Regions from separate parts of the Homo sapiens genome. Here all the other regions are linked to region 1. Evidence: promoter capture Hi-C in 16 types of primary human blood cells and fetal thymus (Javierre and others, 2016). All regions are on one chromosome and are shown on one strand. Each heading gives the region's core, a stretch centred on a gene start or on the middle of the fragment in contact. The rest is flanking DNA. Distances are from core to core; before and after follow the strand shown.

Region 1 (3,944 bases), core at 603-3,102:
TGTAAACCCAGTTTCCTCCTATATACATAGCAAACATAGAATTCAAATACACAAAGCACATACACTTGAGAATCACACTCAGACAACTTAACCAAACAACAAAAACACACCAGCCCCCAAAGGATCCCACCAGTGCACCTATCCATCAACACCCGCCAAGCCAGTCTGGCAGGCATCCGTCACCCAGCAAGTGGTCCCAGTAACTTCCCCTGCAGGCCCTAGGTCTGACTCTTAACCTCACACTATCATATGTACCTAGAGACATGAGCACAATTCAACTCAATCAATGTTTATTAAGCAACCTCTTTGTGCTGAATGCTGTATTCTTTTCTTTTAATTCTTCAGCCATAGTCCTGGTCACACCAAATGCAGCTTGGTTTAGTTCCCCAATCATCCCAGCCATTCGGGTCCCTGCACTGGCTCCATCCAGTCTCTCTAAAGCAAGAGTTTTGTTTGTTTGTTTGTTTTTTTAGATGGAATCTCACTCTGTCACCCAGGCTGGAGTGCAGTGGCTCAATCTTGGCTCACTGCAACCTCCACCTCCCAGGTTCAAGCGATTCTCCCACCTCAGCCTCCCAAGTAGCTAGGGCCACAGGTATGTGCCACCATGCCCAGCTATAAAGCAAGAGTTCTTAACTGGGTCCACATGTAGGATTAAAGGGTCCATAAACTAGGGTGAAAAATAATCTTACATCTTTATTTTCATTTTTGCCTCTAATGGAAATTTAGTATTTTCTTCAGTTATGTATGTAGACAACCACAGATATCTTCATATCACATTACAACTACTTAAGATATATTGAAATGTTATTTATACTCATCATTACTTTGAAGTTTGGTGGTTAAAAGACCTACCTGTAGATTTTGTTATGTAATGCATAAATAAGAAGCAAATAAATTACTGCATTATAATTTATTTAAAATATTTTGATACCTGTATTTCAATGTGACTGATTTCCTCTGTAATTCTATGCATTTTATTTTATGCATTTTAAACATTATTCTGAGATGGAGTCTATTCTCTTTACCAGATGTTAATGAAAACTGTAGCATAAAAAGTACCTGCTATCTGGTTTGAAACTATTCCATTACCTGCTCAACTCATCTGACTCTCCCTTCTACCTCCAAATTTTCTCTTCTTCCATCCTATTCAAACATAGATAAATGCCCCTAGATCAGGCAAGCCCCTCTGCATGGCCCTCAGTAGAGCCAAGTGAATCTTCCTGTTCATTTCTCAGTCTCTCAGTAGTCAATTTCCACTTCCACTCGCAGGTGAAATCTAGAACCTTCTTTTAGCATAGTCTAAAACTACTAAGTACTTTCATAACCTTTCTTTCCATCCAGTCATATCTGCAAGGCATAGTTATCCCATCAAGCCTTAATATCAGGCAAACCTTAAGGTCTCCTCTCAGTTTGGGACACAAAGCTTTTTTACTGTCTCTTGGGATGATCGGCCCAGGAAGATGAGTAAAGCCAGGGCCAAGCAAAACTGACAGATCTGGCAACACACACAAATGTTAAAACCAATGGAATCTTGTGCATGGGACTCAACCAAGCATTGTGACTCCCTGGAACTCAAGGATGTCTAGGTAAGCCAAGAACTGTCATTAGTAAGTCAAAAATTATTGCTAACATCAGAAATATATGGCATAGTTGTTCCTGTAGAGACCAAATTGTCCTGTTCCATCACTCAGCACCCTGAGTTGATGAACTCCTGTGACAAGAGAAACATAAAGGATTATGAAACTTACTCAGAAGGAGAAAGAAAGATGCCACATATGAGATGCCTGCCATTTGGGCCAGCACAGTCCTTTTTCGTCCCAATAGTGTCACTAACATTCAGAGGTTGAGTGACAAATGCTGTGCTCTCACTGCAAAGTAAAGAGGAAGCAAAAGTGTGGTTTTCAGCCCACTGAGAAATAGAGATGTCTTGTGAAAAGCAAAACTGGTTACATTATGTAGCTCTTTACTAATCACTCAAATTTGGGAGTAAAAAAGTTATCTTTGTGGTTAAGTAAACAGATATCGATAAAACTAAGAAAAGATGGGTCTCAACCTGGCTCACAGTATGTGTCATTTGGTAATGATGAGAGAATTTAGGTAAACTGAATAAATAAAAAAGGCACCAGCAATGTTGTCTTCTTGGCCCTTCCTTCTCCTCCTCTCTTGAGAGAGGAAATGACTGAGAAATGGGAGAAGGCCCCTGAAAAACATGAACTTGGGGCGACATGAGGTGGTGCTGAAGGTTACAGGCTCTAGAGTCAGGCTGCCTGGGTTTGCATGCAGATTCTAGTTTTAGTAACTGTGCAATCTTAGAAAACTTAATTAACTTTTCCTAACCCTCATTGCTAAAATGAGGATACTAATAGTAGGTACCCTGTAAGATTACTGTGAATGCCAAATGAGCTAATTTTTTAATTATTTTTTTATTTCTTTTTTTTTGTATTTTACTTTTTTTTATTATTATTATACTTTAAGTTCTAGGGTACATGTGCACAACGTGCAAATTTGTTACATATGTATACATGTGCCATGTTGGTGTGCTGCACCCATTAACTCGTCATTTACATTAGGTATATCTCCTAATGCTTTCCCTCCCCCTTCCCCCGACCCTATGACAGGCCCCGGTGTGTGATGTTCCCCTTCCTGTGTCCAAGTGTTCTCACTGTTCAATTCCCACCTATGAGTGAGAACATGCAGTGTTTGGTTTTTTGTTCTTGAGATAGTTTGCTGAGAATGATAGTTTCAAGCTAATTTATTTAAAGCACTTAGAACAATATCTGGTACATAGTAACTGCTCAATGAATATTAGCTACCATCATCACCATCATGAGACATTTAAGTAAATCTTCATCTGCCCTGTGAAACTGCCTTTGCAAAAATTGTAACAGTGAGAAAGTTATGACAGTGAAAGGGATCTGACCTCACCATCTCCATCTTGCTTCTAACTTCCAAGCTGCCCTTGTTAATTCCTGGTTGTAGGCCAAACTAACTTTGGGAGGAATTTAGCTTAGTTTAATTTTGAAACAAAGAGGATAACAGCCCTTTCTGGAAACAAACCCCCTTCTTGCCTGGGGAGCAGACTTCCCTAGTAAGACTAACAAATTAGCCACAACATTAGAAATTATGGTTTAGGAGTCATGCAGCCAGAGGCCACACAATTCCAACCTCCCCAACTGTTCCTAGGGATAACATCACTATTGTAAAACCTAAATTGGTGCTCAAGGTATTTTTCAGACCCTGCATCCTGATGCACCAGCTGACACCATCCAGGCTGGTGATCTGGTTCCACCAGTTCTTTGATCCCACTTAGGAACGGAAGACTGCAAGAACCCCCTTTGATCCCCTGTGATTTCATCTCCTACCTGACCAATCAGCACTCCCCACTCCCTGGCCTGCCAAATTATCCTTACTAACTCCAGTCTCTGAATTTCCGGGGAGACTGATTTGAGTAATAAAACTCTGGTTTCCCATTTAGCTGGTTCTGTGTGAATTAAACTCTTTCTCTATTGCAATTCTCCTGTCTTGATAAGTCTGTTCTATCTGGGCAGCAGGCAAGGAGAAACCTGTTGGGCAGTTACGCTAATGGGCAGTTACACCGATGTGAACCCAGGTATCAAGGATGGCAGAGGAGTATCTAAATGCAACAGTTGGCCCTGAACCTAGACTAATACTACGCTAGTGCTAGAGTTCTCAGGAAGCTTCCACTTAAATCAGATAATCACAATGCAATGTGTCAACAATCAGTGGGGCACCTATAGGGGGTGGGGAAAATTGGTAGGCAGGAGGGAAGGTCAAGATGGATTGGGCTGGGCCAGGTGAGTCAATGAGTCATCTAGAGAGGCAGGGGGCCAAGGTACAGTTGGGGAAAAACCGTGTGGCATGAATAGTAACACACAGGCTGTACTATCTTGTTGGAATGAAGTTTGAGGTTGTTGTGAAAG
Region 2 (3,944 bases), core at 709-3,208, 500 kb after region 1:
CAATATCCACTGGGGGTCTCTCTCATACAAATAATGGCATAGCTGTTCCCAGCAGTTAGAGGAAATGGCAGCCCTGGGACCTGGGGGGATCCAAGGGCAGTCCACGTCTCCATGGGAAGATGGCAGCAGCTCTGTGGCTCTTCACAGTGAAGTGACGACCTGTTGTTAAATGTTTAACAGAAGCCAAACTTGGCTTTTAGGGGACAGCTCTCCTGCCAGCCAGCCAGCTTGCCAAAGGAATCTTTCCTGTGCACAGAGAGCACACTGGGCTTGGAGACATTCTCTGCACAGTGGGATTTGGTGAGAATCTTAAGAGTTTCTGTTCAAGGTCAGTTTGTCTCTCTCAGACCGTGGCACCAAGGAACCTGCTGCTACCCTACTTGATGGGGCTGAACAGGAGATATATTCCACGCTTCACAATTGCCACCTTTCGGGAGCGGCTTCACCAGGTGAAGAAGCCCTGGTTTAGAGATGAGATCTGGGTTTGGGTTCTGGTTCTGCCCCTCATTAGCCATGTGACCTTGAGCAAGCCTTATCCTTTCTCGTTCTCGGTTTCTTCATCTGTAAGATTAGGAATACTCATCTCTAATACTAATCTCAAAAATTGTTTTGAGTGTTAAATAGGAACGAATGCATATGAAACTTTAGAGAAGGGCTTGGCAGATGTTTTCTATGAAGGGACAGATAGAAACTATTTTTGGCTTTATTGACCTTACAGGCTCTGTCTCAACTACAGAATTCCACGATTGTAGTAGCGTGGAAGCAGCCATAGGCAATTCATCAAGAGATCAGCAGGGCTGTGTCCACTAAAACTTTATTTTACAAAAACAGGCAGTGGGCTGGGTCTTGCTCATGGGCTGTACTTTGCCTATCCTCACAGCCTGTTTCTGTGAAGCCCGTGAGCTCAGGATGGTTTTATGTTTCTAAAGGGTTGTAAGGAAAAAACAAAGAAAAGGTGACAGTGCCCAGAGCGAGTATTTACCACCGGCTTCTTGGAGAAGCTGGCTGGCTCCGCTCTAGAGCATTGCAGGAAAGTCAGCCCAGGAGGCAGGCAGCTGTGTCCCTGAGTATCAGGGGGCCTGCCTGGTAAGTCACAATGAAACAGACAGTGGCCAGATGACCCCTGGGCCCTATCCAGCTCCAGGGGCTAGGGTCCACATGACTCTGATGACCGAGCTCAGGGGCTAGAGGAGGGAAGGGAAATGGCCCCCTAGTTCTCTTTTCAGTTGTCTATTTCAGATGGTCCTTATGAAAGAGGATCAGCAAAGCTTCCATCAGAAAATGAACCAATAATCAAGTGAATGGGGCTTTCGTTTCCTGAATTGTCTCTAGCCTGTGAGGCTGTGCTTCCATATGGAACTTCTGAGTTCTCTACGAACTCGAACAATGAGTCATGGGCGAGCCCAGGACTCCCACCCACTTGGAGTCATGGGGCTCTGACATGGAGACAAGACCACAGGGTTTCTGTCAGGCCAGAGCCCTGACCCCTCAGCTAAGATGTTTCTTCTTTGTTCTAGATTCAGTCATATAAGCAGAGGCAGCAGGTACTAGGCCTCAGAGTAATAGTCCCTGAAGAAAATAAAGAGAAAGTCTGTCTGAGAAAAGCCAGTTGTGCCAGTTAAAGAATGACCTATGGCCACAATGCCTTACTGGAGGGTGCTTGGGAGCCCATGTCCTCATGTCTGTTGTATCGGGTTAGGGAGATCCTGGTGCATTTCAGTGGGGAGGGGGTTGCTGCTGGTCGTGTTTTCACTCCTTCTCTCTCCTTCCCCAGTGACCCCAAGACAAAATGCTGTTAGGTAAGTGGGGTCTGCTTAGCCCCACTAAGTTCCCCCATCCACCATTAGGAATCAGTGGTATTGTTATAGTCTACCAGGACCGACCTGGTGCTGCTCAGAACCAGGGGCTCAAGGCAGGGCCTCCCTTCATCTTCTTAAATTATTCTCTAGCAGCTCTGAGTCTCCCAAAGATTGGTCCTAGAGAAAAGACTATGTCATTTACTGCTTTTTCTGATGGTAAAAACATGCATATTTACTGCAGAAAATTTGAAAAATAGAGAAATGTGTAAAGAAGAAAACGTACAAAATAACTTTAGACTCAAAACCAATCTGATTAAATCAGGAAATCATTATTTATTGAGCACCTACTATGTGCCAGCCACTGTTGTTCTTGGTGCTGGGGACATAGCAGTGAAAAAAAAACAAAGTCCTCCCCTTCGTGGAGCCTATATTTCAGTAGGGACAGTCAGTACAGTACAGGAAGGGGCTGGGCTGATGGAACAGGATGCCTTTTTTGATAGGGTGGTCAGGACAAGAGGAAGCAAGGGATGCAGCTATTTGGGGAAGAGTGTTTCCAGCAGAAGGAAGAAGACCTGCCCAGGTGTCGGATAAGAGCCTGCTTGGTGCATTCAGGGATACGAAGGAGGCCAGCGTGGCTGAGATGAGGTAGGGGCAGCCGGGGTGAGAACAGGTGGGACTTGCCGGCCATGAAGAGGACCTTGGATTGCTGTTGAGTGAAATGGAAAGCCAAATGTAGGGTCTTGAACAGAAGAGGGACATGATGAGCCTTATGTTTTGAAATGATCATTCTGGACACCAGATGGAAAATAGACAGGGGCTGGGGGTGGGGTTGGCAAGGGGAGAAGCTTGGAAGCCATTTGGTTATTGCGAAAGTCACACAAAGCTGTGAAAGCAGAGCTGGCCTGGTTGAAGGAAGGGTGGAGGTGGGGGGAGGGCCGGCATTTCCTCCCACTGAGCCTCTGCCCTTCCCTTTTCCTGCTCTCTGAGGTTCCACCATGGGACCCCAGGGTACCTAGGATTACAATTTGAAAGCTATTGGACTAGAGGTTCTCTAAGGGCCCTTCCAGCTTTGCCTCCTGTGCTCTTGTGTTTCAGGACCATGCTGATTCTGTGGGACCAGGCCCGGGCTCTACCAGCCAGGCCTCTGAACATGTCAACTTGAGAACTGAACAGGTTCAGGGTCTAGGAAGGGGAGACATTTCAAAATTTTAATTAAAAAATATTTTTAACGTTTAAATTTTTGTAGAGACAGGGTCTTCCCATGTTGCCCAGGCTGGTCTCAAATTTCTGGGCTCAGGTGATCCTCCCGCCTTGGCCTCCCAAAATATTGGGATTACAGACATGAGCCATGAGATTTGGAAACTTAATTCAGCTCCCACATACTAAACGTGGCCAGCCCTGTGTGGGGATTGTAAGAGGGGATAAGTAAGAGGAAATGTCTGCTCCAAGAAACTCACTGGCTGGGATGGGAACTAGGGAATCACACAAATGGCCCAGCCCAAAGTCTGAGAGGCCCCGGCCCCTCCCTGCCTGGCCTTTTTTCCATGTGGCCCCTGAGCCAGTGGTTCCCAAACTGGGCAGGTCATGGGGTCATCGAGGAACTTCAGAATATGCAGATGCCCAGACTGTGCCCTCAAAGATTCAAATTCAGTTAGTCGAGGGTGGGTGGGGCCTGGGAATCTGTTCAGACAAAGGCCTGGCCTGAAGCCTGGGCTGGAGGGTTCAGTCCAGACAGAAGAACAGAGACTGATGAGAGGGCTTCTGCCAGCTTCACCAAGCCCGTGCTAGGCAGGATGTGGAAATCAAGCCTGTCTTCCAGTGGGGCACGGGGGTGGGGAGCTGGAGGAGGGGGTGGCAGCTCCTTTATCAGCTGTCCCCATCAGAGGCCCTTCTCCCAGGAAGGAATGTTTAAAAAACTCCCAGGAAGGAATTGCTGGGTTTGGAGACTATGAGAATTCCCCATCTCCCCCAATCTCCTCAGCCACCTCAAATCAACCAGCCCGTCTCCCCATGTTTGGGTTAACTCCTTATTGGCTCGGAATGTCTCGCCTGGGTTGACTACTGATCTGTGAGATCGCTTAGTGGCCTGAAATATTTCCAGAATACAAGCAACACTGACAAAAATATTCTTGTAGGGCCCCACAA
Region 3 (3,944 bases), core at 1,010-3,509, 450 kb after region 1:
AGTTCACCCTGGGCCTTGCTGGCTTCAAAATCTGGGCACTCTCTGTTCTGCACTCTGGCATGGTTATTAGCGTCCCTACAGTCCCTTTTCTGACCACTCAGTGGTATCAGCAAAGCAACAAACTCACTGTTGACACCATTCCTTTGCTCCTATTTGTGTATTCATTCATTCATTCATTCATTCGTTCATCCATGGTTTGTGACCTTTGAGAAAAAACTCACTCCCCTTTCTTCTATTGTTCTTTTGTTCATTAGAAATTATCTTAGCAACTTACTTTAGTGTTGGCCTTGGAAGTGCAACAGAAAAGACTTTACTGTAGGAAGGAAATAATAGATATACCCATGCACACAAAGTAGAGGTAGATATTAGTTTTAGAGACAGTTCTTAACAACTCCTCCTCTTGGTTGAATAATTCTATTTAAAAAAAATTTACATAGTTTTAATATTATAATAGTAATAGGATATTTGTCTTCAAAAGTAACATATTTTTCAATGTGACCTGTATTAAGTAATAAGTAATAAATTGAAATCTCACCATCACCACAATCTCTAAAGTAACCGTGGTTACTTTAAAAACAACCACTGTTAATCATTTAGGGTGTCTCTTTCCAGTCTAAAAAAAGAGCAAGTGAGAATGCATGTACACATGTATTCATGTCTTTTTATAGTTAAAATATATATATATTTTTTGGTAGAGACAGGGTCTCACTACATTGCCCAGGCTGGTATCAAACTCCTGGGCTCAAGTGATCCTTCCACTTTGGCCTACCAAAGTGCTAGAATTGTAGGCATGAGCCACCACATCTGGCCTCTTTATTGTTTTTAAAAAGAGGAATATTCTGCATATATATTTCTATAACTTTTTATTTTTAATATTAAGAAATTTTCCAAATTCCCAATAATAAAAGGAGAATATCCTGTTTCCTTTTTTAAAATAACCACATAGTAAGCCATGGCATAATACTAAATTGTTTAACTATTAGACTAGATTATTATTTACTAGTATAGATAACTTTAAAATGAATATCATTATGCATATCTCTTTATGTAGGTTATACTATTGTTTTATTTGTTAACATCCTGAATAAATATCACCCAGATCCCAGTATTCAGTGAAACTACAGGTTCTTTTAGAGCATAAGCAAAAATAAATTGTATGCATGTGTTTTTGTATGTGTGTTTAATTCTGCTTACATTTGAATTTTCTTCCATCTTTTTCCTACTATCTGAGTAATATCACTAGTGCCTTTTATTCAGTCAAGTCTCCACATGTTGACTCTTGTCTTGGAGTTATGATGCCATCCCCCTCCTGGCCTTTCTTCTACTTCCCAGGTCTCTCTCAGTCTCCTTAGCCAGTGTTTTCCCCTCTAGCCAAGCTTTAAAGCACAGGTCCAAGCTGCCTTTTCCCACTTCATACGCTCTCCCAAGGTGATGGTCCTAATGGCCTCCATTGGAGCCACTAGAAATGTGATGACTCCCAAATCTGTATCCTTTCCTGTGAGTCCCAGACCTGTGTACTTAGCAGCTACTGGGCATCTTTGCTTGGATGTCTCACAGACCCCTCACACTGAACAGTGTCAAACTGAAAGCATGATGTTCCAGGCCAGTCTTAGTCTTCCTGCTGTGTTTCCTTTCTTAGGGAAAGACACCACAACCCACCTAGGAGGAAGTAAGAGCTGTGATTCATCCTGGCCCTCCTGGCACCTCCTCTCCTCCTCCTTTACCCCATATGCTGTCAATCATCTAGTTCTCCCAGTTTTACCTCCCTAATGTCTCTTGAACCACTTTGCCTAGCACAATGCTGCCTCTTGACCAGTCTGAAATTGCTGTCTGATGGATCTCTTGCTATCTAGTCTTACCCCTCCCATCAGTCTTCCACACCATAGCCAGAAAAGATAAACACTTTCATTATGTAAAAATATAGAAACTTTGTATGGAAGATATTCATTTAGTAAATTCAATAGGCAAAGGCTGTATTTGAAAAAAAACTATAATACAGATAAAAATATATAACATATAAGGAGCCTTTAAACTTTGAGAAGAAAAAAACAAACAATCTAATACAAAAAAAGAGGATGTGAAAAGACATTTCTCAGAAAAAGAAATCCAAATCAACAAGCAGAAGAGATGCTTAAATTTTTAAAGGTTGGGAAAATGCAAATTCAAGTATCAATGAAATGTCACTATTTGCCCAAAAATTAAACATAAAAAAAAAATTACCTAATGCTGTCAGGAGTCCAAGGAAAGGGCAACTCAGGCATTACTGATGGAGATGTAAATTGCCAAAGTCTTTTTTGTAAACAATGCAGCAACTTCTATTAAAATAAAAAAAATCTATTTACCTTTTGATGTAGCAACTCCCAGCTCCACTCTACTCCCACATAAATATGAAACCATAAATACATCAGGACATATGTACAGGATAGTTATTGCGGTGTAACTGCAATAGACAAAGCTAGCCACAAAAGGAGTGTTCATCAGTGGTGGATGGCAGATTAATTATGGTTCCCTCATGCTCTGGAATATTATGTAGTTATTAAAAAGAATAAAGTATAGCTATACCAGTTGATTTCAAGGAGATTTTATGACATATTAATGGAAAGGCGGGATGTAGAGAAGTGTGCATAAGACCATTTTTATTAAAGAATGGTAAATCCCTCAGGCACACCTCCTTTTATTGCATTTCACTTTATTGCACTTCACAGATAATGTGCTTTTTACAAATTGAAGGTTCGTGACAACCCAGCTTTAAGCAAGTCCATCAGTGCCTAACTTTATGTTTTGTCTCTCTGTTACATTTTAGTAATTCCCACAATATTTAACGCTTTTTCATTATCATATCTGTTATGGTGATCTGTGATCAGTGATCTTTGATGTTACTGTTGTCATTGTTTTGGGATGCCAAGAACCATGCGTATAAGACGGTGAACTTAATTGATAAATGCTATGTGTGTTCTGACTGCTCCACTGACTGGCTGTTCTCCCCATCTTTCTCCTTCTCCTGGCCTCCCTTGTCACCTGAGACAATGATACTGAAATTAGGCCAATTTAATAACCCTGCAATGGCTTCTAAGTGCTCAAGTGAAAAGAAGAGTTGCACTGTCTCTCACTTTAAATTAAAAACTAGAAATGATTAAGCTTAGTGAGGAAGGCATGTGAAAAGCCATGACAGGTGGCCGGGCGTGGTGGCTCACAACTGTAATCCCAGCACTTTGGGAGGCCAAGGTGGGTGGATCACCTGAGGTCAGAAGTTTGAGACCAACCTGGCCAACATGGCGAAACCCCGTCTCTACTAAAAATACAAAAATTAGCTGGGTGTGGTGGTGGGCACCTGTAATCCCAGCTGGTTGGGAGGCTGAGGCAGGAGAATCGCTTGAACCTGAAAGGCAGATGTTGCAGTGAGCCAAGATGGCACTATTGCACTCCAGTCTGGGCTACAAGAATGAAACTCTGTCTGAAGAAAAAAAAAAAAAAAGAAAGAAAGAAAAAAAAAAAGCCACGATGGGCTGAAAACTAGGCCTTTTATGCCAAAGAGTTAGTGAAGTTGTGAATTCAAAGGAAAAGTTCTTGAAGGAAATTAAAAGTGCTACTTCAGTGAACACATAAATAAGAAAGTGAAACAGCGTTATTGCAGATGGAGAAAGTTCGAGTAGTCTGCATAGAAGATCAAGCCAGCTACAACATTCCCTTAATCCAAAGCCTAATCCAGAGCAAGACCCTAACTCTCTTTAGTTCTGTGAAGGCTGAGAGAGGTGAGAAAGCTGCAGGAGAAAAGTTTGAAGCTATCAGAGGTTAGTTCATGAGATCTTAGGAAGAAAGCCATCTCCATAACATAAAACTGTGAAGTAAAGCAGCAAGTGTTGATGTAGAAGCTGCAAGAAATTATCCAGAAGATCTAAGATTACTGGTGCAGGATACATGAAACAACAGATTTTCAATGTAGA
Region 4 (3,944 bases), core at 695-3,194, 410 kb after region 1:
TTGGGAATCTTGATGGAGGCAAGCCAGCTGGTTAAGTGGCAAAACTGAGATTTGAACTGAGATTGGAGCCCAGGTATCTCTGACTTCCATAGAGCAAATGTTTTCCTTTATACCATAATTGCCTCCTGGGTAAAGTAGCTGGAGGGTTGGGAGACCCCAGATCTGCTCTGAGGTCGTCTTTGTGTCTTGGGTGTCTTGAGTTGGTTTCTGTTGTGTTTTCACTGTAAAGTGAGAATGAACAGTGGTTGGCAGAGGAGACTTATGAGTATCACTGTACTTGGGCTGTTAAGAGGCCTCTACTTAAAGGTGCACAGTAATATACTTTTATGGCCCTTTGGAGGCTAGGAAGAGCAAAGGTGGGTGCTTGAGGCCGTGCAGGACTCCCAGAGGGCAGCTGAGGCACCAGGAGAGTGCATCCCCTTAAGTGTTACTGTCTCTCCTCTATTAAATATTTATGCATTTAGCACTTAATATTTTCCAGAGAGCTTCATATGAGTTTTTACTCTTTCCTATATACTTTGGTGCTGGTGCATTCATTTTGGGGAAATAGAAGTGGAAAAATACATGAGAGCTGACTGTGCGCTGGAGACTGTTGGACACTTGGTGTATATTACCTCACTTAATCTTCACTGCAACCCTGGGAGGAACATATTGCTTTCCCATTTTATAAATGAAGTAACAGAGGCTCTGAGAGATTCTCACTTCCTCAAATTAAACACCTAGTGAATGGGGGAAGTTGGGATTTGAATCCAGGTGTGCCTTGTTAAAGAGTAATTGCGGTAGGGAGACTTTGACCTTTTAAAGGCTATGTAATCAGAGATTATTCTTTCAGCATTCAGTTAATCGTGTCCTTTACAGAAGAATTTTCTCCTTGTAGATTGATGATGTGGAGGAGTTATAGCACTAGTGTTACTGGTAGTAACAACAGTAGCAGCTAATATTCACTGAGCATTTCTTGTAAACCACTGTGAATGCTTTGGTTCCTCGTTTCTTAATCCATGCAGTGCTGTGAGGGGGACCGTTTTACCCAACTTCACAGATGAGGACACTGACACAGAAGTTACATAAATTGCCCAGTGTGCCATAGTAAGTGGCAGAGCCAGGATTCAAGTCCAGACAGGCAGTTTGGCTCCAGAGTCCAAGTTCCTAATTTTATTATTATATGTTCTAGACAAGTGTTTTTCTTCTCAGGAATCCTCTTTGGTACTGTATACTTGTATTTAATGTTTCCTCTCTCTGGTTAACCACCCCTGATTTCCTAATCCCCTTTAGCAAATCCTTAAATTTGTTTTTTGGAAGTTGGGGTCATAAGACATTGGTAGAGGTTCCTCAAGACACAGTTTGCTGATGGTGTAGAAGTTTTATCTTGTGCCTCTTTTAACTCCTGATTCTTCCAGCTTCTGCCACAAGGTGGCTCTAAGACTTGCGGATACCAGAGCTCCGAACCAGCGCTGTCCTCTCTTCTTTTGCTCTCCCTGCGTACCTTGCCCCTCAAAACATAGATTCTTAGCCCTGCTCTGGTGTCTTCCATAGAAATGTCCCCTGCTACCCCCGTTTTAAAGAATATTGTGTTAAATATTCTTATTCCATCAGAATCAAATAGGAACCCAGGGACTGTTGACTCACTCATGCTGGTCTGTTTACCATCAGCCTTCCACTGCTGTGATATCATTTATCGCAGCAAGCTTCTTTGTGGTCTGTGCCCCAGACTCGTCCCTGCTGGAGCCACCTGCTGATCCTGCCCCCATATCAGTATTCATCAGAATCTCTGGTTGGATGGCACAGTTGACTTGTGGATCTGTTATTTGACCATTCCCTGTGTGTGCTTCCTGTTGCATATGCATATCCCCAACAGAATCTTCAAGGAATGCCATCACTGTCAACGTTGCCATTGATCTAGCTTAGTCTGATCCCCATTGATCACATAGTGTGACCCCTCAAGGGGTGCTTAGGCAAGACTTTCAGCCAGTTCACATGTTTGATTATTAGCTCTTAATCAGTTCTTTTCTCTTTTAATTGTGAAGCATAATTGCCTTGCTTCCTTCTGATTTTCTTTAGCTCAAAACACCCTCCAATTACATATCCTTAAATACAGAAGCAGTAAGGGAAATGTTAGCACTCATTTTCCAAATGTTTATGACAATATCTTGGTTTGGCTATTAAATATTGTACATTAAAATTGACAAAGCCATAAACAAGCTTCCATGAGGACAGCCTCTAGTGGTGGAAAGCCGACTTGTCAGAGGGTGTATTCTGCTGGGATTTTACTGATGGGCAGTCAGGATGAATATTTAATACCCTCTGGATGTTGCCAAATCGGTTTTCTTCTATTTCTTATTGCTGACCCGGCAGATTGGGATAGCAGAGGGCTTTTCTTTGACTTCCATGAGTCCAGAGCATGTGAACACTGGCTCTCCTTTCACATTCTGAGGGATGGCTGCCCCATCCCTCAGAGGACTGGCCTCTGCCTTCTTTCAGGGGAGTCTGGGGTTCTCCTTCTTCCATCCCAGGTGGCTTCTGCCTGTTGTCTGTGCCAAGATAGAATGGGTGTCAGTGCAAGAGCCCTAAGAGGAGAGCTCAGCCCCTCCCAGATCCCTCAGGCCTGTTGTCATGGTAACACCGGGGCACTTGTTATTGGCATCAAGGAGCCAGGGTCACTGCCCTACCTGCAGACAGGTAAGGCAGGGTAGGGCACATCTGGGTAACCTTCATTAGCTATTTCCACCTGCAGACTCTTGCTGCTTTCCCCTTGCCCCTCCCTCCCTGTCTCTCTGCATGCATTGAGCACCTACTAAGTGCCAGGTTGCCATGCTGGTGAGGCTGCTGAGATGGGTGTGTCACGTTCCTGCCTTGCGGGCTCTGTGGGAGGCAGCAGGCCTAGGGACAAAGGAGAGCAGAAAAGCGTTACAGGTGTGGAGGCAGAGCCAGCACAGGGCATGAACGGGGGCAGGGGGCGTGAGGAGGGAATGGGGTAGGGGTGAGGGTGGGAGGTTGGGAAGGAGGAGTGGAGCATTTCAGGCTCAGAGAAGAGTGTGAATAAATATAGTCACGGAGGGTGGGAGCAGCATGCTTATCTTGAGATGACTAAAGCATGGGGTCTGGGGAGGGTTCACCCCCAGGCAAGCTGGCAGGGATCAAGAAGTCCCTTTTGTACATGGGAGCATGGGGTGAGGGTGGGCATATGTAATAGCTAAAAGCAAGGACAGACCAGACGGCCTGGGTTTGAATTCCAGCTCTACCACTAAGCCAGCTGTGTGACCTTGGGCAAGTGTCTTTATAAAATTGGGAATAATATTTATTTCATAGGATTGGTGAGGACCAAATAGTTAATATTTATAAAGTGCTTAGAATAGTGCTGAGCACATAGGACCAGATGAAAGTTTGCTAAATAAATGAGAATATCCTAAACTCAGAAATTAGGACTTTAGCTCATACCCAGATCATATACTCCATTTTTGTAATAATTTATAATGTTCCCTTTACCCAGAAATGAAATTCATATACAATATAACATTCCTAATCATATCTTTAAAATTTGCTATATTGTCCTAGTTGTGGGATAAAGAAAGTTTTTTTTAAAAAAAGTAGTTCATAGTAAAATAATGAGTTTCAGTGCGTAAATGCTCAGGACAGCTATGCTAGGAGGCACAGTCACAGTCAACGCTGTCTCTAAATGCACACTGACAGTCACTGTATCAGACTTGGCACCATGAGCAGGACTGCCATCCTGACAGGGTTTCTGAAGTCCTGAGTAACTCTTGCTACAATTCTGAACAAAACAAAGGAAAATCCTCTCTTGACTGACCTGGCATATTTTAAAACCATGCAAAATAAAAGTATTGTGATTATAGTAAAACGAAAGTAGGTTCTAGGCCCAGAGGCATAATTTTTGCCCATATGAATGTCATTCGAAAGTCACACAGGACACGAGGCAGAGTTTTGTT
Region 5 (3,944 bases), core at 1-2,500, 340 kb after region 1:
CACGATGTGGCAGGAGCCGGGAGCGACTTCCGAATTGTTGTGGACCCTTCCTGTAGCATAGGGGAGTTTTCACACTTGCCTCCACTCCTCCCCTTCCCCCCAACTCCCTCCTTCTGATCTCTTCTTTTTAATCTGTTCCCATTTTCCGAGTTAAGTTCTATTTCCAAAACTGTTCTCTGGAGCTATAAGTGGATTGCCAGAAATGAGAGATTAGGAGCTGGGAGAAGAGGAAGCGCCTTGTGTTGTGTCTCCTGGAGGCTGCCGACATGAAGTGCTTTTTCCCGGTGCTGAGCTGTCTGGCTGTGCTGGGTAAGTGGCTCTGCTTATCAGTGCAATCGATGTGAAAGTTTAACCTGCTCTTGGTTCCTGTAATTTCTCGTGGTTCTTTTTCATCAACACTAGGATTTGGGGGACACCAGGAGGCGGTCGGTGTGTGTCACAGGTTGGAGTAGAGTACGAAGAGGCCCGTTTCTAACCCAAGAGCAACGGTGGAATATCATTTGTTATCTATAAGAAGGAACATTTGCTGTTCTTAAAGTGTCTGTCTTGGCCCCTGGGGTGAGGTCCTGCATCTGCACATCTGTGGTTTAGGGACTTCACATGGCTGGTGGGCTGCTGTCTTGTAGCATGTCAAACATGGATGCTCTGGTGTTTTCACTTCTTTGTTGGGCTGCATTGATTCCTAATTGGGAGTGGGAACATCATTCCCCTCTGTCTCGAAAGTTGGTTTGGGTGATAATGATGGTGCCTTTTTTGAGGTGGAAATGGGAGTAAGTGGGATGGGGGTTGAAGGGATGCTTTGCCTACCTGAGTGGTCTGAAGGCTAAAAATGTGAGGGCACTAGTCCTGTGTCTCCTCACCAAGGAAGCTTAGATCGTAGTTCTGGGAGAAGGAGAGCCTGAAGAAAAGGAAGCTGCCTGGTAGGGGAGATTTTAGGATTGGCTTTTGTGCTCCCACAAATCAGAATGCCTAGAGTGGGAAGAAGAAACTATGGCCCTGAGAGGTGAACCTTTGACACCCCTCTTAAGGTGCAGATGCAGGACCTTCACCCCAGTGAAGAGGCCCCTCTGCTCAACAATTGCCTATTCTTTTTATGCCATTGAGCACTGTCTTCAGCGTGCTGTCTTAGAACACATCTCAGGTCTAGGATAAACTTCATTGCCAGGATTTGGTGCCATTCTCTTTCCCCATCTCAGACCTCATACATGAGCACACCCCCTGCCCTCTCTGTAAGGCTCGGTCCTCTGCATTCAGAAGGGATTATGATTGTTGCCTACAGGGTTCACGTCTCCAAATCTAGGTGTCTTGCACGTAGGGAACTTAGGGTGATCTGTTGGCAGTGGAGATTGCTTCCATGCATTGTCTACACCCTTGCAGTAGGTAACAGGTGTGTGGGAAGAGAATGGACTTTAGAATTAGAGGACCTGAGTTCCTATCCCAGCTTCACCATGATTGACATCTGAATGTCAATAAAACAGAAACAATAAAACAAGGGAAGGTGTGATAACTAAAGGATATAAGGTGTCCTAAATGCCTTGACTGCCTTAAATAATGTCTGAAACTCATAATAGATTTGTGCAATCAGTGGTTCTCAAACTCTCGTGTGCATGTTGGAATCACTGGGGAAGCTTTTAAAAATTCTGATTTCAGGCAACAACCCCAGATCAGTGAAACCAAACTCGCTTAGGGAGTGGGACCCAGGTCTCAGCCTTTGAGCTATCTCAGGTAATTCCATGCATGGTTCAGTAGAGAACCAGTGGGTGAGTTCACTAGCGCCAGTGCCCTACCACCCAACGCATGCAGACACCCTGCTGGTAGTTTAGTTAGTCTTCTGTTCAGCTGTGGGCTGGGATACAGGCAGTGTCTCCATGTCACCTGTATGCTCAGGCAGAGTCAAGAAGGCAGGGAGCCCTTCATTTGCCAGTCTCTTCATATTGGATCTGTATTTGTTGTACTGTATGTGTCATTCGCTTAGTGTCTGGGTTTAAATCAGCAATTAGTGATTCATGTGGATTCAACAGGACACAAACAAGGAAAGCCCTTGGGGAGGTTTGGATGTGGGGTGGGGTGTGTGGCTAAGGCGGGAAAGAGGGCTGAGTGGCAGGGTGGGGCCCAGGGCAGGAGAAGTAACCATCAATGGGAAAACAAGGCAATGTGACATTTGTGCCTTTTGTTTCTTCTGGCTGCTCAAGTAATGTAAGGCTGCATGCTGGTCCCCCTGCTGTTCGCTCTCTGGGCCACTCTGTGGAGTGGAGCTCGGGCCCTGGCACCTGGCAGGTGCTGTCATTTTCCCTCCACCCTCATCTTCATGTGTAAACAGGTGCCATGGAGGAAAATGAGCATCAAGGTGGCTTTAAAGGGGCACAGTGGCAGACATCCAGATGCAGGCTGAAGTGGGAAGGTTTGGAACTGTAGGCATGCATGTGGATCTCTGCCTGATTTGGAGCCCCACTGGTGGAACCTCATCTTTCTCTTCACCTGATGGCTCTCAGTATGGCAGGAAGGAGGCCTGGCTACTACTTTACTAATCTGGGAGAGGTAGAAGGCGTTTGGGGAGGGAGCAAAACCCATGTTGGGGTCTTATTTCCTGCTTGTCTTCTGATGTGGTCTGGTTCATGTGTCAGCATTCTTGCTGCATAATGTGAATTAATGTGTAGTATGAATTTAAAACAGCGAAGAATCCCAAGGTTTTAAGCCCATATAGGTCACATGCCTGGAATAAAATTTTGTTTAAAAAAGTTGGATAAGGCTAAGTGCTCTGAAAGTGAGACCGATGCAGGTACCAGCCTCTAGAAATGGCAATTTTAGTTAGAAAACCCTGGACAGTATGTGAGGGGTATACAGGGTAAATCTCGGAGACGCTTTCATCTCCCTCAACATGACAGACCTGTGCTTTTCTGCACCTGTCCTTTGCCAGTGTCTGGGATTGGAATCAGATTCCTCTTTTCTGTCTGTTGGGATACTGATTCCTGCTTATGTCTTTGTCCTACCCTTTGTCTTTGTACCTACCCCCTTGACCTCTGTGTGTTGTTTCCTTCTGTCCTAACCCTAGGTGCCTCACCCAATAAGGGTTGTGGTGGCAGTGCATGGCTCTGCCACCACAACCCTTGGTTCCAATTACAAAGCCATTTAAGCCTGGCTCTGGTTGAACCATGAGGGTAGTAAAGTCTCTATTTGAGGATAGATGTGGCCAGAGGGGCAGAAGATTAGAGAGAGAATAGAGGCTGGTACAGTGGTAGGAAGGGAAGGGTGACTGGAAAAGTGCCTCTGTCTGGGAGCAGCCTGCATGAGTGACAGTGACATGGGAAGATGACAGCAATGTGGGAAAGAGAGCATAGGATTTGTGTCTGTAAGAACAGGAAGGAAATTCTCAGGAAAGATGAATATAAGCTTTAGACACATACAGCACATTTTGATTTTGTGTAGCCAGGAAGAGTTATATACCTCCCAGACCAGTGCTGATGTTGCAAACAAGATTAAATAGCTTTAAAAGTGTTAGCAATGAAAAATGTAGGAGATTGGGACATCTGAGAACCTGTAGATGGCAAATGATCATTTGTGTTCTGCTCCAGAGGGAGAGAAGTTCATTTGTAGAGTTTGGGAAGTCTCTTCTTTGAATACGGTAAGGCTGAGGAAGCCATCTCTTACTTCCCAGTTAGTTAGAAAAGGCTTCTGAAAGGGATTGAAAGAAACTTTGAAGTACTATGGGTGTGACCTCAGAGGCAGGGCTGGAGTGATCAAAGGCAGAGGAGAAAGAGGAGGCAGAGAAAAGTGAGATGGTTTGGAGCAATCAGGAGAAGGGTTCTGAAAGAAGGGGATGAGGATTGTGATTTATGGATGAACAAACACCACTGTCCTAATAGTTGTCCCAGAGGTAGTGCACTTCCCTTTCCTGGGGACCATTTGACAAGGGTGCAGGAGAAGGAAATTCTTGTCAGGAGGAC
Region 6 (3,944 bases), core at 1,049-3,548, 300 kb after region 1:
AGGAAAACAAAACAAAGAAAAAAATGAAACCAATAAGTCAATAGTTAACTGATTTAACACAGCCATATCAAGAATTGTATTAGGTAAAAATGGACCAAAATCATCTATTAAAAGGTATTATTATACTTGGTAGAAAAGTATAGTAGGACCAAAATCATCTATTAAGAGATACTATTATACTTGGTAGAAAAGCAACATCCAACTATATGTTTTCTACAAGGCTTAGTTTTTTAATACAAAGATACATACAGGTAAAAGTTAAAGAACAGAAGATATACCTGGCAAATATTAATTATAAAGCTAGAGTGGCCACTTTGAAATCTGACAAAGTAGACTTCATAAGAAATATTTCCAGGCTGGGCGCGGTGGCTCACGCCTGTAATCCCAGCACTTTGGGAGGCCGAGGTGGGCAGATCAGGAGGTCAGGAGATTGAGACCATCCTGGCTAACACGGTGAAACCCCGTCTCTACTAAAAATACAAAAAATTAGCTGGGCATGGTGGTGGGTGCCTGTAGTCCCAGCTACTCGGGAGGCTGAGGCAGGAGAATGGCGTGAACCCGGGAGGCAGAGCTTGCAGTGAGCTGAGATCGCGCCACTGCACTCCAGCCTGGGCGACAAAGCAAGACTCCATCTCAAAAAAAAAAAAAAAAAAAAAAAAAAGAAATACTTCCAGATTAAAGGGAAATATTTCATCATGAAAAAAGGGTCAATTGATCAAGAATACTTACAATATTCAATGTATGAGCACCTAACAACAAAGTTTGAACATACACAAAGAAAAAACTGGCAGAACTGAAAGAAAAAACACACAAATACAAAAGTATAGTTTGAGATTTTTAATAACCCCCTCTCAGTAGTTGATAGAACAAAATTTAAAACAAGAAAGTAAAAACTATCTTCTGATTTTTGTAGTCCCTCCCCAACCAAACTCCCAATACTATGCCAGTCATCAATTCCAAGCTAATGTTTGATGAATGAAAAAAATCCTCAAAATAAGCTTTGTTTTCCATTAAAGAGAAAACAACCCCTAAAAATAAAAAATAAACTTCTACTAGCAAGATGGATAAAGAAAGAAAAAGCAAAAACACAAAAATAAATATTAATAATAAAAGAAGGGACATCATTATAAGTCTTATAGACATTAAAAAATAAAAAGGGGATATTATGAACCACTTATGCCAACAAATTAAAAAGTTTAGTTGAAATGGATAATTCCTTTGAAAACATGAATAACTCAAATTGACACTAGAAGAAATAGAAAATTTCAACAATTCTATGTTAAGCCTAAATAAATTGGATTTATAACTTAAAATCTTCTGACAAAGTGGACTCTGGGCCTAGATAGATTAAATAATGAATTCTATCAAACATTTAAAAAGGAAATAATACCAATCTTAAGCAAAATCTTTCAGAAAATAGAGGGGGAAGAAATACTTCCCAACTCATTTTATGAAGTCACCATTATTCTAATAACAAAACCAGACAAAGACATTAAAAGAAAATTATAGTCTAATTCCTTATGAACATAGCATAGATAAAAAATTCTTAACAAACTATTAGCAACTAGAATCCAGAAATACAATTAAAATGATAATACATCATGACTGAATGGAGTTTATTCCAGGCATGCAAGGTTATTTAACATTTGAAAATCAATCATTGTCATTCATCACATTAATAGAATAAAAAAGAAAAATCCTATGATCATTTACAACAATGCAGAAAAATCATCTGATGAAATTCAGTGCCTTGTTATGATTTTTAAAACTCAGTAAACTAGGAATAAAAGACAACCATCTTAACCTAATAAAGGAATCAATGAGAAACCTGAGCAAATACTGTAAATTAATATTGGAAGACTCAACATTTTCCCATTGATATTGAGATCCAGGCAAGAATGTTTGTTTTTTCTCTTCTATTCAACATTAATATTGGTGTCCCACCAGTAAAATAAGACCAAAAAAAAAAAAAAATCTTACAGATTAGAAAAACAGAAGTTAAACTTTTTTTATTCACATAGTACACAATTTTCTTTTCTTTTCTTTTTTCTTTTCTTCTTTTAGTTAATAGAGATGAGGTCTTGCTGTGTTGCCCAGGTTGGTCTCAAACTCATGGCCTCAAGCAGTCCTCCCACCTCAGCCTACCAAAGAGCTAAGATTACAAGCATGAGCCACCATGCCCAGCCATGTACATAATTTTCTATCTAGAAAATACAAGTCTACCCTGAATGGCTACTACATTAATAAGTGAATTTAGTAAGGTTGTAGAATACAAAGTCAACATAAAAAATAAATTGTATTTCTGTATACAAGCAACAAATAAGTGAGACATTAAAATGTAAAACATCATTTACAATAGCATCAGAAATAGATAATATTTTGGAATTAATTTAACTAAGCATGTATAGGACCTATGCTAAAAACTACAAAAAAACTACTGAAAGAAATTAAAGACATTTAAAAAATGGAGACACATAACTGTTTGTGAATTGGAAAACTCAATATTGTTATGCTGTCCATTCTCATCACATTGATATATAGATTATATGCAACCCCAATCAAAATCCCAGCAGGCATTTTTTCTTTAAGCAATTGTAATACTGAACCTAAAATTTGTAAGAAATTAAAATAGCCTATGTTAGCCAAAACAATTTTGAAAAAGAAGTTCAAAACTGAAGGACTTAATTTGATTTCAAGACTTACTTTAAAGCTACAGTAATCAAGAAGTATTGCCTCTGGCTGCTTCCTCATTATGATGGTAGAGTTGAGTAGTTGTAACAGGAACCATATGGCCCAGAAGGCCTAAAATCCTATCTGGCCTTTCACAGAAAGAGTTTGCTGACCTCTGTGATACATGATGCTCATGTGTAAGACACTCCTATCTATAATTCCTGGCCTACCTGGTATTATTCCACCACTTTCTCTGTTACTCATTATAGCATATTAAAGTGCAGATGAGGGAAAATAATTTTAGAAATAATATTTAATCCCTTCTAATTTATTTAAAATCAAAATTGTTCATAGATTTTGGCACTTTATGGTTAATAATATGTTATTTGCAATATCCCTTACAACTGTATACAAAGCCATAGTGGAAAACCAGTCCTACCAGGATGAAGATAATTACACATTAAATTTGTATTCTATGTAAATATGTATATGAGGCATTATAAGCATTATTTGACCCATTTTTTAAATGAGGAGGCTGACTGGCAAATGCATCTATTAGAGCCTGCAGAAAGTGAGGAAGGCATGGTTAGGAAAAACAGACCAATTGGACAGTGGAATTAATAGGTTCAAATTGGTGATAGATTGGACATAGGTAATGAAGACAAGAAAGTATTGGAAAAGTAATTTTGAGAGTTGTTGTGAATCTGGGTTTTTAGACAGGGTTGCCATTGACCTGGTAGGAAAATTGTGAAAAAACATTTATTTCGCCACTGAGAGCAGGTTGATTATGAGTTCCATTTCTAATTGCTTAAAGTGGTGCTTTCCAAATTAATGGATTTACAAAGTACCTGGTCATCTTGTTAGAATGCAGATTCTGATTCAGTAGTTTTGTGACAAGGCCCAAGATTCTGCATTTCCAATAAGCTTCCAGGTGATTCTGATGTGACTGGTTCAGGAACCACACTTTTTTAGAAAGGCATTAAATGTGACTAAAGGAAATCCAAGTGTAGATTTCTTCTGGAAGGTAAGAGGAGGGTCCTGACAGGGAATACTGTTTATGCAGTTGGAAAGAACCTATTTGTCTTCTCTAGAGGCAAGATACATAACTAAGGGCCTGTAATCTTGAGGAGATTCTCAGTGCAGAGAAGAGAAGGATCCAGAACAATCAAGGAGACAGAATAAGAGCTATCAGAAAACTAGAAGAACCAGGAGCATTTAGCATCATTAAGGAATCCTATGGAATATTGAATTTCAAGGAGTCAATCAATGAATTC

Evidence for each region. The method cuts DNA at HindIII sites, captures the fragments that hold promoters and counts their contacts. A CHiCAGO score of 5 or more calls a contact.
Region 2: a fragment that was not itself captured here is called in contact with the fragment with the promoter of CD101 in region 1 in 1 of 17 cell types (M0 macrophages); the score reaches 7.0 in M0 macrophages.
Region 3: a fragment that was not itself captured here is called in contact with the fragment with the promoter of CD101 in region 1 in 2 of 17 cell types (M2 macrophages and M1 macrophages); the score reaches 5.1 in M2 macrophages.
Region 4: a contact is called between a fragment that was not itself captured here and the fragment with the promoter of CD101 in region 1, in 1 of 17 cell types (M1 macrophages). The highest score is 6.8, in M1 macrophages.
Region 5: a contact is called between a fragment that was not itself captured here and the fragment with the promoter of CD101 in region 1, in 2 of 17 cell types (activated CD4 T cells and M1 macrophages). The highest score is 5.7, in activated CD4 T cells.
Region 6: a fragment that was not itself captured here is called in contact with the fragment with the promoter of CD101 in region 1 in 6 of 17 cell types (total CD8 T cells, activated CD4 T cells, M2 macrophages and 3 more); the score reaches 7.0 in total CD8 T cells.

Annotation. Positions count from the first base shown.
Region 1 is chr1:116,999,668-117,003,611 of GRCh38, reverse strand. It overlaps CD101 (CD101 molecule), which reads right to left and starts at 1,852. Exons shown (of 10, transcript NM_001256106.3): 1 at 1,752-1,852. The coding sequence starts at 1,794. The HindIII fragment of the contact is 2,275 bases long and covers 1,429-3,703 here.
Region 2 is chr1:116,495,307-116,499,250 of GRCh38, reverse strand. All of the region lies in intron 1 of LOC112268235 (a long non-coding RNA gene), which reads right to left. Among named protein-coding and RNA genes, the nearest start is that of LINC01762, 18 kb to the right of the region's middle. RefSeq lists an enhancer at 117-216. The HindIII fragment of the contact is 1,376 bases long and covers 1,271-2,646 here.
Region 3 is chr1:116,551,270-116,555,213 of GRCh38, reverse strand. The region is part of intron 1 of CD58 (CD58 molecule); the gene reads left to right. It overlaps LOC105378925 (a long non-coding RNA gene), which reads right to left. Exons shown (of 3, transcript XR_947739.2): 3 at 1-3,944. Among named protein-coding and RNA genes, the nearest start is that of MIR548AC, 6.9 kb to the left of the region's middle. The HindIII fragment of the contact is 1,762 bases long and covers 1,379-3,140 here.
Region 4 is chr1:116,593,917-116,597,860 of GRCh38, reverse strand. All of the region lies in intron 7 of IGSF3 (immunoglobulin superfamily member 3), which reads left to right. LOC105378924 (a long non-coding RNA gene) reads right to left here. Exons shown (of 3, transcript XR_947737.3): 2 at 2,793-2,877; 3 at 2,120-2,528. Among named protein-coding and RNA genes, the nearest start is that of CD58, 25 kb to the right of the region's middle. RefSeq lists a silencer at 938-997. The HindIII fragment of the contact is 514 bases long and covers 1,688-2,201 here.
Region 5 is chr1:116,662,649-116,666,592 of GRCh38, reverse strand. It overlaps IGSF3 (immunoglobulin superfamily member 3), which reads left to right. Exons shown (of 11, transcript NM_001007237.3): 2 at 1-309. The coding sequence starts at 267. Among named protein-coding and RNA genes, the nearest start is that of IGSF3, 3.1 kb to the left of the region's middle. The HindIII fragment of the contact is 760 bases long and covers 871-1,630 here.
Region 6 is chr1:116,698,632-116,702,575 of GRCh38, reverse strand. The region is part of intron 2 of LINC02868 (long intergenic non-protein coding RNA 2868); the gene reads right to left. Among named protein-coding and RNA genes, the nearest start is that of LINC02868, 6.5 kb to the right of the region's middle. The HindIII fragment of the contact is 2,596 bases long and covers 1,001-3,596 here.